Linked DNA regions of Homo sapiens: region 2 is linked to region 1. The links are contacts of gene promoters, found by promoter capture Hi-C in human tissues and cell types (Jung and others, 2019). All regions are on one chromosome and are shown on one strand. The core of a region is centred on a gene start or on the middle of the fragment in contact, and the rest is flanking DNA. Distances in the headings are between cores, read along the strand shown. Region 1 holds the start of KRTAP27-1 (keratin associated protein 27-1). Region 2 holds the start of KRTAP8-1 (keratin associated protein 8-1).

Region 1 (3,141 bases), core at 642-3,141:
GGGAGTCTGAGGCAGGAGAATGGCGTGAACCCAGGAAGCAGAGCTTGCAGTGAGCCGAGATTGCGCCACTGCACTCCAGCCTGGGTGACATAGCGAGACTCCATCTCAAAAAAAAAAAAAAAAATTGAAAGATCAATTTAAGAACACACCAAAAGTTTCAGAATAGCTAAGCTACCTAAATAAAATTAATCAATTTCAAACATCTGACTCTATGGTCTTATGATGTTCATATGAGTATATTTTCCATCTTCTGTTGACTACCACCATGAGTTATTCTTTTCTGGTTCACACTATAAAAATTATAACAAGAGGATATGTTCTCTTTTCTTCTAAATATTTATACTATTTTCATTAGGTAACAAACGAAGAAACAAAAAGCCTGTAACATAACACCTGCAAAAGGATTGAATAAAAATAATAGTGTGACAAGTCCAAATTTTGCTTCCAAAGAAAGCAAATTTATTTAATACAAAGAATATTTTCCAAACTCAAAAAATACTTAAGAAATAATGAAAACAGGAAAAAAACAAACAACCAAAAAAACAACGGGAACGAAATGAAGTGAAGATTCTAAACTTCAATTCATTCTATTTAAAGGCTTCTGGTTGCTACGTGGTTATAAAGCCCATGGAGGTGAAATTCAAAATTACCTTGCTCTATTCGAACAATAGACTTAATCTTCTAGTTAATTTGAGAATGTTGTGATTCAATGGCTAAAATAACAGATGGCCAGTGAGTAGGCCTGGATTTTAGTTGTGGTTCTGATGTTATTAACTACTTGGGCAACCTCTGATAGAGTTGAACCTATCGTAATTCACAGGACTAGGTAGGCTTTTAGGTTTGGTTCCAATATTTTATGAATTTCTGAGACTAGTAGCACATTACTTAATAAACCAGATCCAATGCTAAGTATTTCCAAAGAAAACAACTTGCAGTTAAAGTGTGATGTTTCCTTTAAGTATTCATGTTATTTCCTGGCTACAGCTCTTATTGCTTAATAACAAATCGTATCCTACTGCTCTAAAATAGCTAGCATGCTTTCCAACCCCAGATTACCACTAGACATACCCAAAAGAAAAACAAGAAAAAAAATCTTGTCTTTGGAGACAGTAGTAAAATAAGACATGTTCATTTACTAACAAACACACACAACATTTTTTATTTAAAGAAATACAAAATATCTAAGTATCTCAAAAATAAATTCATCCAAATGAGAATATAAGCCATCTCCCCTACAGATCTTCACTTACTAGGCAATTGAGAACCACCAGTAACACAGCAAGTTGGTTCAACTCCTGGAGAAGATTCCAGGAGTTGTGGCTCAGGTGCAACATTGACCAGAGGTCTACAGGAACTGGATTCAGGGTTCTGAGACTGACACTGACATTGGCTAGATGCACGTTCCAGAGTTTCGAAATTTTTAGACTTAGAAGTCTTGGGTGGGCAACTGTTTCCCTTGAGGCTTGCAGGTTGGCAGCTCTGGGCTACAAAACCCATCTGCTGAGTGCTTTCTGATTGGCAAGGCTGAGAAACACAAGCCAGCCCTGCTGAAGAACTTTCTGATTGGCACGCTGTCCTTTCGCAGGGCCTGGAATTGGAGTAAGTAGTTTGGACAACTCCGGGGAAGCAGTTACTTTGCACACAGCTATCGTCTGTGAATAAGTCCTGTTCACAATTGGTCATTTGGCAGCTGGTGGTTTCATTGCAGGTTTCTTGAAAGTTGTCCAGGAAACAGGTTCTGCTATGGAAGCTGCTGGGCAAACACAATCTGTCTTCAAAGGTTATAGGATTAGTGCCATGTGTGATGGCAGAGAGTGGTGGGGCATTGTGGAAGCTCCTGAGTGAATGGCAGTGGCTATGAGGCATATTGCTAAAAATCCTTAAAGATGGTCATAAGGACTCAACATGCTGAGTTTGAAAATTAAATTCTTTGGTGCGGCGATTATATACTCAGAAACCTGGGTGTTGGCTTCTCAAGACTTCTTTGCAACTCATTGCTTAAACTAATTTGAAGGATAACATCTCATTACCACTTTGGTTATATATGCAGATGATGTCTTATTAACAAAGATGTAAGTCCATTTTGAATCTTCAAAATGGCTTTTATGTTAGCTCCAAAGATGACTCATTCAAGGTGGGGTTGGTCAAATAAGAGTCTAAACCTGTCCAACCAAGCTAACATTTTTTTTTTTTTTTGCCACCATGACTCTGCACATTGGTAAGTGGACAATGAGAAATGCATGAGGCAGTGGCCAACTGAATACTGATTAACATTTAGCACTGGTTTTGAGAGCTGCCAATGTAGCAGAATGTGGTAATTTGATGTTCAAGACATTTAAAGTTAGAATTGGATCCAGGTTGAGCCCAATCTCATTCCACTCAGATATTGTTCTCTCCAGTGGACCAGAATGTGAGAGGACTTTGTGATCACATTCCTTCTCAGTGTTCATGCAAAGTACTGAGTGTGGCCATTGCCCAATAAATACTTGTCTTTTGCCTAACATTTCGTTTCCCTAATCTCCTTGAAAGCCAAGTTTAAATGCGTCCTTTTCCTGAAGTCTTCCCCAATCTTCCCATTTAGGAGTTATTTCTTCCTTTTCTGAATTACTAATGGATTTAATTCCTTTTTTCTATACTTGACAAAGTGGTGTGTTTACTTGTGTTTGTGCTTCTCAAAGGTTGATTATTTTCCTTTATAATGAACCTTCTTCAGATATTTTTCATCTTTATTCTGTGCTTTTTTTATTGACTGCAGACAGATGATCAGTTCCTATGTTTATCGCATTAGGACACCGTTCTTAGCATAGTTTCATACTCATGGCACAGAGCCAACCAGCACAATTTCTATAACATATTCTATAATATATTTGGCTCAGCTAATGACAATAAAATAGAAGTATAGTCTTAGTGCACTAACTAGACTCCCTTTCTAAGGTCTGAAGAAGCCCAAGAACATTCAGCAATTCTCAGTAATTCTTATGCAAACACTTCCTTGAAAGACTGAGGATATTATAAATTTAAAAGGGCACATCTGAATACTTTCAGCTTTATAGGCTGCACACTCATCTTGTATACAATACCTTTGTAACACACGCAAGTCATTTATAATTTTGAATAACCACACTTGTATGTTTAAAGATC
Region 2 (3,141 bases), core at 470-2,969, 480 kb after region 1:
GATAACCTTCTAGTTTCGATCTGATGCTCTAATTTCTGAAAAATCCCACTTTTCTTTTTCTGTTCTATTTTAACCTGCATGTTTAATTAATTCACAATTCTCAGCATGAATTAACATATGGCTGCTAGAAAGTTGCAAACTGGAGATTTTGTTGGCTGTAACCTTGTCTACTATCGCTAAAAAGGAAAACAATCAATTATTTCCCGATTTTTTAAAAAAGATATACATTAGATAAAGTATGGTGGAGAAAATACTCTCTTCTGAAATGACCTCGCCAAATAGTCTTTATGTTTTTAACTACGAAGTGAACCATATGCAATATAATCACTTGCACATATTCAATAAAAAAGCAGGGTTAAGCCAAATTTTGTTACCACCAAGAATATTTGTACTATACATAAGATGTTTTCAATAGAAGGATTGAGACTTTTTTTATCTGGCTTATAAAAGGAAATTGCTCCCTTCCCTAAAGGAACACAGAGAAAAGCTGATACATCTTCAGAAATATTCATTACAGCTCATATCTTTTAAGTGAAACTCGCTATCTGGTGTTGATTCTATAAAGATTAAGAAACTTGTCATGGTTGTGAATAACCCAGGTGCTTCAAAGCTACAAAATAGACACCTTAGATGGTTTGATATAGGGGATTTATCCCTTCACCTTAAAAACTCTCAGATTTCCAAAGGATGTCTGTGGCTTCTCTATTACTCAATGCTCCAGCATCCTTCATTAGGGGGCATGGCACTTTAGTCTATAATCCTTAGTCCCTGGGAAAGGGAACACAGTGGATTTCATTTGGACTAACATGGAAGTGACTGAAAAAGTTCCTCCTGTGTTGGGTTTTCTTGCGGAGGAGCAGAAGTAGTGAGATGAGAAGGGGACCCCGAGCAATAAATGGTGCTCCATTGGGTTGGAGGTGGGCATCATAAAATTTAAAGAAGGTTCAAACAGGCAACCTTTTAAGTCATTACCTGCAACCCACCCTCTTACCTGCTTATCACACAGGATCAGTAATTCTTTGCTTTCTGGCTGTTCCTAATGCCCACATGAGAAAAATAAATTCACTTCCCCCCCACCACCCATGTAACAGAAAATATGCACACACCAAGAAAGGAAACTTCGCTCTAGCATGAGAATATTATACCAGCTGAGACAAATTTATTGAGATTTTGATAGACATATCCATGACTTCATCACAAGTCATGAGTGTCATGGAAAATTCAAAAGTAGCTCATGACAAGTGGGAGGTCAAATTTCCGAAAATGTCCCAGAGAACATCAGCCAGGGGAGGCAGCTTGAGGAAGCGTCTGCTTTTTCATTTTCCTCCCCTGGGACTCGAGGTAAGTTGGAAAGCAGTGTCTCTGAGGTTGATGAGCAAATGAGGACTGAAGGAGTGGATACGGGGGGAACCTGGAGATGTGGGGCTCAGCCTTCAAGGGAGAGAAGATGCTACACCTCGGGGATTTCAGCCAATCAGTAGAGAGCAAATGGCGAGTATCTCCTGTAGCCGAAAGCCCCACAGCCGTTGTAGCCATAGCCGAAGCCATAGCCCACTGGAGAGTAGGTGCTGCCATAGCCACAGCCAACGCTATATCCCAGCGGGTAGCCATAGCTGCCCCAGTAGCATCCTGGGAAGACAGCCCCGGGGAAGTTGTCGCAGAGCATGGTGTCGGGAGTGGAGGGCTTAGGTAGCAACAGAGTGCGTTTCCTCAGTGGGATGGATTCCTAGTCTCAGAACCTTCTTTATATATCCCAGCTCTGGTGGGTGGTGAAAAACACAAAGCCCTCATTTTCATTCTTGACACCAATTTACATTCTAAAAAGCTCATTAACTTGTTTTGCTCTTGCTTATGATGTCTTTACAGTGGCTTAAGAAAGCTCTCGTGTGATGCAATACAGGGAGAAGATGCCTTTAAACAAATTATTTCCCTTCCTAAAAAAAAAAAAATTATTGCCAGGACTTCAAAGCACTCTGTCTTATAGACCCCATATAACTCTGTAAGCAGGTATATAATATCAAGAAATATTCTGAGGTTGTTAGCTGTTATGCAGTCCTCTTGCTCTCTGAATTTCCACAACACACAGTTGAAATTCAATAAATATGTGTTAAATACATTAATATATAAAATAACAAATGGATAGTGAGTCTATCTCAAAATTCTCAAAATTAAAGTATGTCTTAGTATTCACCTGCTTCAAGGATTCTCTTTTTTGGAATATGAAAGACAAGTGCAATGGAACTCATGAGAAAGAGTCTTTTTTTTTTCCTCTACTACAGCTACCGTGTTTGGGAAACTGGTTAAAAGTGTAATCTTAATCATAGTCCCCTCCTAAACTATACCTAACATCACATTTCTAGAAGACTACTTGAATTAATAGTATTGAGATTTTAAAACGGAGTATTTGGATTAATCCTTGTACTGAATTGTCAAACAAATTTAATTTTTTGGCCTGAAACATATTTCAAACTAAACATTGAAACTAATAAGGTAAACACAGAAAAATGAATTAAAAAATTTATTGTAAGATTTAAAATTTTTTTTCTCTTAGATCTAATGAAACTAGATTGTCTGACAAATGTGATGATATTATAAAGGGCCAGATGACAACATGAAATCAGTTATTTCACTTTTACAATGATCATGCACCCCAGGATAAAGAAGGAATGTTATTCCTTTCTAAACAGAGAGTCAGTTCTCAAGCATGAGTTAAAGGAGGGATAAGGCTGATCAAAACTATCTTGGATCATGTAAGACCTGATATATTATTCTCAGACACCTGCATTAAGATTTCTTACAGTGGCACTTAGTAGAGAACTTACAGAACAAATACCAAAGAGGGCATATGGAACAGAAATAGGCACAGAGATAATAGGAATCATTCTAGAAGGCCACAAAACAGATATGTATTACACATGAGCTCTCCCAGATTTTACTTCATAACCCAGAGGTAACTTTGCTCCCTGCTATCAGCAGCTAGGAATCAAAGGCTGAATCCAAGAACAAGATGAGACACTTGGAAAATTCAAAACCATGCCAGTGTTCTAGCCAGCAGTAGACTAATTACAGCAGAGGCATTTTTTTTAAATATAGATATATATATAATTTTTTTTTGAGGCAGAGTCTTGCTTTATTGCCCAG

What was found. The method cuts DNA at HindIII sites, captures the fragments that hold promoters and counts their contacts. A contact is called where the count stands out against the background at its distance.
Region 2: the fragment with the promoter of KRTAP8-1 here is called in contact with the fragment with the promoter of KRTAP27-1 in region 1 in 4 of the 25 tissues and cell types used here (H1 embryonic stem cells, hippocampus, liver and 1 more).

The regions. Positions count from the first base shown.
Region 1 is chr21:30,335,803-30,338,943 of GRCh38, forward strand. KRTAP27-1 (keratin associated protein 27-1) reads right to left here and starts at 1,892. Exons shown (of 1, transcript NM_001077711.1): 1 at 1,211-1,892. The coding sequence starts at 1,866. The coding sequence ends at 1,243. The HindIII fragment of the contact is 14,979 bases long and covers 1-3,141 here.
Region 2 is chr21:30,811,555-30,814,695 of GRCh38, forward strand. It overlaps KRTAP8-1 (keratin associated protein 8-1), which reads right to left and starts at 1,720. Exons shown (of 1, transcript NM_175857.4): 1 at 1,143-1,720. The coding sequence starts at 1,666. The coding sequence ends at 1,475. The HindIII fragment of the contact is 6,797 bases long and covers 1-3,141 here.